3 separate regions of the Homo sapiens genome follow, and regions 1 and 2 are each linked to region 3. The links are contacts of gene promoters, found by promoter capture Hi-C in blood cells and fetal thymus (Javierre and others, 2016). All regions are on one chromosome and are shown on one strand. Each heading gives the region's core, a stretch centred on a gene start or on the middle of the fragment in contact. The rest is flanking DNA. Distances are from core to core; before and after follow the strand shown.

Evidence for each region. Contacts are between HindIII fragments. The CHiCAGO score rates a contact against its expected background, and 5 or more counts as called.
Region 1: a contact is called between a fragment that was not itself captured here and the fragment with the promoter of CCNE1 in region 3, in 1 of 17 cell types (endothelial precursors). The highest score is 6.2, in endothelial precursors.
Region 2: a contact is called between a fragment that was not itself captured here and the fragment with the promoter of CCNE1 in region 3, in 1 of 17 cell types (total CD8 T cells). The highest score is 6.0, in total CD8 T cells.

Annotation. Positions count from the first base shown.
Region 1 is chr19:30,645,187-30,648,134 of GRCh38, forward strand. It overlaps a transcript of ZNF536 not described here. Among named protein-coding and RNA genes, the nearest start is that of ZNF536-AS1, 24 kb to the right of the region's middle. The HindIII fragment of the contact is 717 bases long and covers 1,157-1,873 here.
Region 2 is chr19:29,219,431-29,222,560 of GRCh38, forward strand. No RefSeq gene overlaps it. Among named protein-coding and RNA genes, the nearest start is that of UQCRFS1-DT, 7.7 kb to the left of the region's middle. The HindIII fragment of the contact is 2,711 bases long and covers 1-2,668 here.
Region 3 is chr19:29,810,066-29,813,299 of GRCh38, forward strand. It overlaps CCNE1 (cyclin E1), which reads left to right and starts at 1,926. Exons shown (of 12, transcript NM_001238.4): 1 at 1,926-2,087; 2 at 2,467-2,513; 3 at 2,624-2,711; 4 at 2,904-2,972. The coding sequence starts at 2,491. RefSeq lists a silencer at 1,380-2,009. The HindIII fragment of the contact is 7,130 bases long and covers 1-3,163 here.

The DNA of each region.
Region 1 (2,948 bases), core at 265-2,764, 830 kb after region 3:
TATCCTTTGCCCACTTTTTGATGGGGTTGTTTGTTTTTTTCTTGTAAATTTGTTGGAGTTCATTGTAGATTCTGGATATTAGCCCTTTGTCAGGTGAGTAGATTGCAAAAATTTTCTCCCATTCTGTAGGTTGCCTGTTCACTCTGATGGTAGTTTCTTTTGCTGTGCAGAAGCTCTTTAGTCTAATTAGATCCCATTTGTCAATTTTGGCTTTTGCTGCCATTGCTTTTGGTGGCATTTCTTTAAAAAAATTTTTTTGGGGGGAATCAATGCCTTGGTGCCTTAGCATCAGAGGATATGACTATTATAGGACACTCCTGTTATTATTAATGAGGAGGACATGTATCCTTCATTTTGCAACTTTTCATCCTCAGTGACCTTTTAAATATGGAAACTGTTGAAGTCACATTTTAATATTAATGAATGATGTAAAAGGTAAATGAAGTTCAAATTATTCTAATACTTGCATGTTAGGATCTGTGTCTATATCCATATCTTCTCCACAGGCTTGTCATAACTTTATAAGTGTCAAAGGGATTTGAGTGTGAAGCCCCACAGATGAGGGCCGTCTGCTAGTGGCTGCAGCCCACTTAGCGGATGGCGCCACCCTGCAGCAGGGAGCTTCCCATCTAGACACATATGTTCTGATGCTTTTGGTCATTATTCTGACCTAGACATTCACCAAGAATGAAGAAACTATTCGTTTGGCGAACAACACGTCTGCATTTTGGGAAAGTTCGCCATGCCGTTGCCCAGCCTGGCTTCTTGCTGGATAAGCTTTGGGTTGGAGCCCTGAGGACAGCAGGTCTCAGATCTAGTCACCGTCTTCTCCAGCCTCCTGCTACTGCATTCTGTAGCTCTGTCTCCAAGTGCAAGAGTTTGGCCCCTTTGGGGATTTCTGCCATTATTTTTTCAGAGAAGGTATTCAGCTCTGGTTTGGCTTGTAGCAACAAAGGTCTTTTTGTGTCTCACGATTCCTCTCCCCTCTGCCTCTTCTTTCATCCCTGTGGCATCTATTATTACCGTAATGTGACTAAGGGGGCCTTTCCCCCTGTCATGTGCCTCCCCAACTGTCCTGGTGGAAAATAGTATGTTCTTTTTTCCTTTACATCCATCATTTCCACCTAAGCACAGTATAGCAGCCTCTGGGGAAAGAAGCTTGAGCCTGCGCACACATGTTCACGACTGTGTGTACACGTGTCTAGGAGCACGAATGTGCACAATGTGTGTTTAGGCAGGAGTGCATCTTTGCAAGGTGTGAAGGTGTGCTCATGAATGTCCCTATGTAATGTGTGAATGTGTGCATGTGCGGGTGTGTGCGTGCTTCTGCATGAAGCCATCGGTGTGTACGTGTGGATGTGTGACTTTGCCGGTCAGTGGGCACAGCTGTTGATCACGCACTGTCCAGACCACAGTGCTTTAGCTCCTTCTAGACATTTTCTCCACCTTTATTTGTGTTAATTACTCAAGTGGCAATTAGTGGCTCTGCCCCCCTTTTGGTCGCAGTCTCGTAGTATTTGAGGGATGGTCATGTATTCATCATATTTCAATAAATCCTTTCCAATGTTATTGCCCTTGTTGTATCAACTGGCACCTGCCCTCCGACGTTACACCTGCAGGAGAATTCCACCACGTTTGGGCGCATTTCCGAAGCAAGGCTATTGATGTTGTATGTTTAAAAAAATTAATTAAAAAAACTCAGATCTCGGGAAATTCCAGCAGTCAGTCTCCTTTTTTTATCCTAATCTCTTCATAGTAATGCTCACAAGTACCCTTGGTCCAGACAATTCTTCATTCATTCTCCACCCCCCACCACACTCACACCCAAACTCCCCACCGCTGGAGATTAGTCCTTTGTGAGTCAGTGCACAAAAGCTTTCTTAAAGTCCCAGTAAATTATACCCCTGGTTTCCCTCTTGAATTCCTTTTTGTTACTTTTTCAAAATATTCTATTAGTTTTGTTACGTATGATCTCCCTTTTGTGAATCCATGCTGAATATCTTTAATTAAATCATAACTTTCCCTATTTTGTCCCTGATTAGTGTTTCCAATATCTTCCCCACTGCTCAAGTCAAGCTTACTGGTGTTTAATTTCTTTGATCTCCCTTTGAGTCGTTATTAAATATAGGTGTTGCATAAGGGCTCTTGGCCACTGGTGCTTCTCCCGTTTCCCTGGGTGTTTTTAAAAGGTATTTGCTAACCGTTCCCCTGTTTCCTTGCCTCTTCTTGCACAAATTCTAAGATGGTTCCCATCTGCTCCCGGAGTTATCAGTCCTTAGACACTCTAATTTCTTTCTCACCTGTTCTGCTACTAGGCTGATTTCCTTCAGAAATATTTTCCTCTCCCTGGGAAATGCTTGTCTGTTGCTGGCATCTGCTTTCGTCTTCCCTTTATGGACATGAAAGCAAATAATTTATTTTTCATTTTCTCTAGAAGTTGTCATCCCTCCTTCCAATCAACTATGTTCTATGTATGCCTCCTTGTGTTTTTTAAAAGAGCATTATAAACCCAGTTCCAGCACCTCCTTGCTAAGACCCCAATTTGGAAGTGGTATTTCCTTTCCAAAGGGTTGATAGCATCACCAACTTTTAATCTGGGGCAGGGAGTGCTGACCCTTTGCTAGCGAAACTGTTTTGGATGCCCCCAGCTGTCCTACAGCAAGCAGCATGAAGTCTTGAGGCTTCCCTGACAACCGGTACAAGAGGGACCTGGCCCCATCTCCGGGTTTTAGGGAGTTGTGAAGTTTCCCACGTGTCGCTTTGGAAATCTCTCATATGAAGTCAGCTTCAGCCAGGAAGCTTGCCTTCACTTTTCTTCTGCTCAGTGCCTCCAATTTTCCTCACACCTGAGGGATGCATCGGTTCTCCTATGGCTCGCTCCCCTTCAGGCTGTACTGTGGGCTCATCCTCAGATGGAATTTCCTTCCTTTTCTGCCTGTGTTCCCAGA
Region 2 (3,130 bases), core at 63-2,562, 590 kb before region 3:
TGCCCACGTTCTGTCTTTGCAGAGGGAAGCCCACCAGAGCCCTCTTCTCTCTGGGGAGGAGCTGGCTCCCTGAATCTCCAAGACAAACCCAGACAGCCCTGGGGACCTTGAATGTGAGCAAGGGGAGCAGAAAGGAGGCTCCAGCCCACCCAGGGCCCCTGCAGGGTCTGCACACACAATTACAGGTCCTCATTTCCCTCTCCTAATGATGCCCCAAAACATTAAGGGAAGTTAAATCAAACCACCAGGTGTCCAGCATGAACAGCTGAAATAATAAATTCACGAGGTAAGTAAGACATTTTATTTGTACTATTTCAAAATTGGTAGATGCAGGAAAGCAAATTGTGATGTGCTTGGGATTTAATTTGTATTTCAAGGTACTAATGAAGGTAGCACCCATTTTCCCAAAGGCCTTTTCATCCCTGAATCTTGAGAGCACTTTTCTAAGCATATTGGGAATAAATTAAGTTGCAAAACCTCCATGAAAAAGATTACGGTTAAAACATAATTTTGAGGAACCACTTGAGTTTATCCATTTACCTGCTTTTAAGTACACACACCTATTTTTTTTGCAATTATTTTTCACAAAAGAAGGAACTTTGTGTGACGTATACAAGCAGGTAATGGCAAACCTCCAGCATCTTTAAAATAAAACTCAAATTGGGCTGGGCAGGATATTACATGCCTGTAATCCCAGAACTTTGGGAGGCCAAGGCTGGTGGATCACCTGAGGGAGCTCGAGACTAGCCTGAGCAACATGGTGAAACCTTGTCTCTACTAAAAACAAAAAAAATTAGCCAGACATGGTGGCGGGTGCCTGTAATCCCAGCTACTTGGGAGGCTGAGGCAGGAGAATCACTTGAACCCAGGAGGTGGAGGTAACAGTGAGCCAAGATCATGCCATTGCACTTCAGCCTGGGCAACAAGAGCCAAACTCTGTCTCAAAAAAATAAAATAAAATAAAAATAAAACTCAGGCTGAACTAAACCAGCCTTCTGAGTCAATGTGCAGATATTCCATAATGAAGTATGCTGATTAATAAATTATTTGATTACCAGGTAAGTATACCTGCAATCAATATAACTGCCGAAAAGCTCTGAATTAGAAATGGTGCAATAAAATTTAACTGAAAGGTATTAGGAATTGGTAGTTTTAATTACAGGGAATGATTAATTGATCATTTAGACAGTATTGATCTACAACTTATTTAATTCTTTGCAATTTAATTTGTCAGATTTGAATCCAAATAACTGATGATTTGTTCCATGAATGCCAGAGCTGGAAGGGATGGGGTTGGCAGAAGAGACAAGACTGGACCATGGACCTGGTGGTTCTGTGCAGAGGCCAAAGCTACTCTCCTTCCCACCTGGCCCTGTGCTGGGCCTAACCTGGAGCCCCCTCTATCCTCTGCCTCATTCTTCTCCGGGTCAAGGTCCAGCATGAACTCCATGTCCTCCAGGAAGCCCTGGTGGACTTGGGCAGACCTGGGGACACGTCCAGCCTCCTGGCAAGATGGGGGTAACAGGAGTGTGTATAAAGGGGAAGGCAAGAATGTGCCCTTGGTGGAGCAGTGAAAAGAAGCCCTCATGTGACAAGTGTTTTGCTCCTAACCCACCTCCTCTGGTGACATCTTCTGGGTTAACTGCTCTTGCTGATCTCTGCACATAAACCAAGCTAACTGTGAGAGGCCTTTCATTTCTAGTTTAAAGCAAGGAGACCACAGTTCCTTCTGAACACTCACCCCCAAGGAGATAAGGAGGGCGTCCCATGAGCAACACTGTGTGTTAAAGATGTACACGAGCACTGGGACCTGACCAAGGACAAACACGTCTCCAGCCCCCTCAGACCCTTGCTGCTGCTCAGATGTCCGCTGTCATCGGTCACATCCTAACCTCAACCCCCTCTCTCCTCCCACATAAAAGGAGGCTGAAATTCATAGTAACTTCAGATGGTTCTTTAGGACACTGGCCCACCACCTTCTCGGTTGCTGGCTCTCCAAAACAAAGCCCCCTCCCTTGACCCAATTCCTTGTTTCTTGACGTACTGGCTGTTGTGCAGTGCATGGTACCGGCTTGAACTCGGTTATGTTGGCATGGCCTCTGGCGGTGCTCAGTTTGTGTGGATGAGTATTTTACAGCTACTGTCCTATTTCCAGTCCCCTTCCTCTGGACGGCTATGGGATGTGCTGTGGATGCCCTCTCTTAGGCTGGAATAAACCACCCTACCTTCTCCTCTGCCTTGTCTCCACCAAATAAACTCCTTAAGGCAGGGATAGAGTCTTGCACTCCACGAAGAAGTATTGCTGCATCCTCAGCTGTGTAAGAGTGACCGGGCTTCTTCTATTCCACCTGTAATGGAACTTTAGGCACGCAGAGAGAGATGGCAAATTTGTGCTGGCTGAAGGGGTCAGCAAATGCATATAAGGCTTCTTGTGCTCCAGAGAGAGAATGGAGTGCAGTCAGTGAGACCCTGAGGGGAGAAGGAACCAAAAGCCTGGGCAGAAGGGATCGTGGAGGTGCCCAGGGTCAGGAGGGATGGGAAGGGTGAGGAACACAAGAGATCACCTGGAGGCATTAGAGGAGAAGGCAGGCACTGGGGATGGTGCCGCTGATCCAGGTGGAGCAACATCCTAGGACCCGAGTGCTGGGCAGGTGCATCCGTGGAGGGAAGCTTCTCTCCTCTCTCGGCTCCTGCTGAGAGAGGCAATCATTCCCCTGGCTTGCCCTGCAAGAGACAGGAGCTCTAGGTAGATCTCTGCTATCTAGGGAATAGAATGTGAATATTTGAAAGTTCTAGAGGTCAAGTCTTAGGTTCCCTCTCAGCTCAGATCCCAAATGGTACACTCTACCCTAACCCCCTTTTCTTGTAGCTTTGCTACATGGAGAGGAAAATACCTTGCCAGACACCAACAGTCCCTTCTCAGCACTTTTGTGTGAAGACAACTCAGACCCTAAGAGAATGGGGTCTAATTTGCAGGTGCCACTGGAAGGCAGAGGTCACGGGAGCCCTGGACTTCAGACAAGGTAGAGGGATCCTGGAGACAGCACATCTGGCCCTGGAGCCCTGCCCACCCGGGGAGTGAGGGCAGCTCTCCTGCTCTCCTAGGAGGCCTGCCCGAGGACCCCCATGT
Region 3 (3,234 bases), core at 676-3,175:
GCTACATTATCTCAATCTTCACAATGATCCTTGGGAGTAGATAGTTGCCATCTGTGAAACAGGATAATTGTGGCATCAACATGAATAGGATTATTGTGAAGTTTAATTGAGATGATACTTTGAAGGACTTAGCCCAGTGCTGCCATTTTGGAAACACTGTTTATGATACCTGTTACTGGTGATTCCTAACGGGCACAGGATGGGGGGTTCAGGTGCCTGGGTCCCTGCTGAGCAAGTAGCCCAGCAGCCTTGGCCTCAGAGCACCTGGGGGAATCATGAATTTGTGAGCCTCTTTGATAAGACCCTGGCTCTAACTTCAAGAAAACGGTCACTAGGGGAGGGTGAGGGACAGGACTGAGACTTTAGCTTAAGAAGGGCCCTGGGAGCATTCCAGAGCCTTCTTTTACGCACATCTTCCTGAAGCTGAGTACAGAGGGTACTCTGAGGTGATGACTGTTCCTTACCTGTCTCTCTCATTAGCCGGTAAGCCCTGCAAGGGCTTGGCCAGTGCCTGTCTTTCAAATGTTCATTCAGAAACAATTTAAGTGTCTCCCTTGGTCCAGGCACTATGCCAAGAACTGACAGATACAGCAGTGAGCAAGATGGGCAAGGTGGGGAGAGAGACAAGAAACAGAGAGGCACCAAGACTGTGTAGGGGCTGGGCTCCCAGCACTTTGGGAGGCCAAGGCGGGAGGATCGCTTGAGCTCATGGGTTTGAGACCAGCCTGAGCAACATAGCAAGACCCTATCCCTACCTGCCACCCCCCACCCCCCGCCACAATAAAAAATACAAGTCTTGAGGGAGAAAGGACAGAGGAGCTGTGGAGAGGAGGCCTGAGGTCTGAGGGTGGGGGATCAGGGTCAGGTCCTGTGGAGCCTGTAGCCTAGGACACGGAGTGTGGATTTGACCCTTATGCGAAACAACTGGAAGGCTTTTTGTTTCTTTTTCTGTAGAAATGGGGGTCTCACTGTTACCCAGGCTGGTCTCGAACACCCCAAGGGATCAGCCGTCTCGGCCTCCCACAATGCTGGGATTAAAGGCGTGAGCCACCGCGCCCGGCCTCAACTGGAAGGCTTTAAGTGAGAGATGGGGTGCAAGGGAATCCCAGAGTCAGAAAGGTCTTCAGAGAGCCAGGAAGGGCTTGCGGGGGAGGGGCGCATATGGAAGGGGCGCATGGAAGGAACTCACAGATTCCTTGAATGAATGAATGAACGACCCAATGCACTGACGGATGAATGGACAGGCGGCCAGGAATAGCAGCCGGCCCCCAGGGAGCCCCAGACCCCGCGGCCTGAAGCCTTGGTTCTAGGCCAAGGCACAGGCGCGGTGACCTTGGGGATGTCCCCGCCCAGGACTCAGGGCCCGGAACTCGGCGTCTCGGGGGCGGGGAGGGCGTGCCTGGCGGGACAGCGCGCGCGGAGGAACGGCGGGCGGTGCTCCTCGGGTAGGCCCCCCACACATCCCCTTGGCTCAGCCCTGCCGGGGCCCGAACCCGCGCCGCCCGCCGTGTTTACATTCCACCCGCGCCAGCCACGCGGCTTTTTGCCGCTCCAGCGCCGCTCGGCCCCGCCCCCGGCGCCCGCGGCCCGCCCCTCGCCGCCGCGCGCCAGACTTCTCCCGCGTCCCGCCCGCCGCCCCGCCCCGCGTCCCGCGCCCCGCGCCCCGCGCCCGGCCCTCGGCGCGCAGGCCCTGTCACTTGGCCCCGCCCTGTCCGCCGGCCCCGCCCCTGATTCCCCGTCCCTGCGCCTCGCGGGCCGGCGCCGTGGAGGGGCGGGTCCGGGGGCGGGGCGAGGGACGGGGCGGGACGGGCTCTGGGTCCCGCGCGGCCGCTGAGGGGCTGGGAGCCGCGGCGGGGCGGTGCGAGGGCGGGCCGGGGCCGGTTCCGCGCGCAGGGATTTTAAATGTCCCGCTCTGAGCCGGGCGCAGGAGCAGCCGGCGCGGCCGCCAGCGCGGTGTAGGGGGCAGGCGCGGATCCCGCCACCGCCGCGCGCTCGGCCCGCCGACTCCCGGCGCCGCCGCCGCCACTGCCGTCGCCGCCGCCGCCTGCCGGGACTGGAGCGCGCCGTCCGCCGCGGACAAGACCCTGGTGAGTCTACTGCCGCGGGCTGCGGACAGGGACTCCTGGGGCCCAGACCGCGCCGGGGAGCTGGGTGGGGGCGGGGTGCGGCCGGGTCGCGGGTCCCCGGGCGGCGTCGCGGGGCGCCCGGGAGGGTGCTGAGAGCGCGGCGGGGTGGGGTGGAGGGGACACTGAGGCAGCCCGGGCCCCGGGAGGCGACGGGCCGGTGAGGGCGGCGGGGGCGGCGGGACCCCGGGTCGGGGGTCGGCGGGTGCCCGGGTCGCGGGTGACAGGCCACCCCGCCATCGGCCATCTTCCTGGCTCGCCCGGCCGCCCGCGCGCAAAGGGGGAAGGGGTACTGGGCCCGCGGCCTGACCCCGCCGCCGCCTCACCCCGCGCCGCCCCGCAGGCCTCAGGCCGGAGCAGCCCCATCATGCCGAGGGAGCGCAGGGAGCGGTGAGTGCCCGCGCCGCGGGGCCGGACGGGACGGGACGGGACGGGACGGGTGGCGTGGGGGAGGGGCGGCCGCGGGTGCTCACCCGGCCCGGTGCCACCCGGGTCCACAGGGATGCGAAGGAGCGGGACACCATGAAGGAGGACGGCGGCGCGGAGTTCTCGGCTCGCTCCAGGAAGAGGAAGGCAAACGTGACCGTTGTGAGTACAAAAGAGACAGGTTGGGGAGCATCCCCCCCATCTCACCTGGGTACCCGACTTGGCTCTGCCTACGGGGGCGGGGGTCCCTTGGGCAGGAACGGAGCTCATAACCTGATCAGCTTTCTCTTCTTCTCTCTGTTTTTGTCTTGTTTGGTGTGTTTCCTTGGGGTCATGGGGGTGGCTTCATGTTAGTTTTTGCAGGATCCAGATGAAGAAATGGCCAAAATCGACAGGACGGCGAGGGACCAGTGTGGGAGCCAGGTAGGTCCGCCCGGGGTTGGGCCTCTGTGGAGGTCCTTCTCCCCCTGGGTCACATGGGGTTTCATGCTGTCTTGTCTCTTGCTGGAGACACTCTGGTGAGAGTGAACTTCTCTAATGCAGCCACAGCCCATATGGCCCAGCACTGTACCTGTCAGTGGGCACTGGCCTCTGCCAGTCCTGGGATTCCAGGAAGCTTGGTGTTCCTGACTGGCACCGTCTGAGATTACAGATATGTGCCTAGCCTGGAAGAACCAGAATGGAC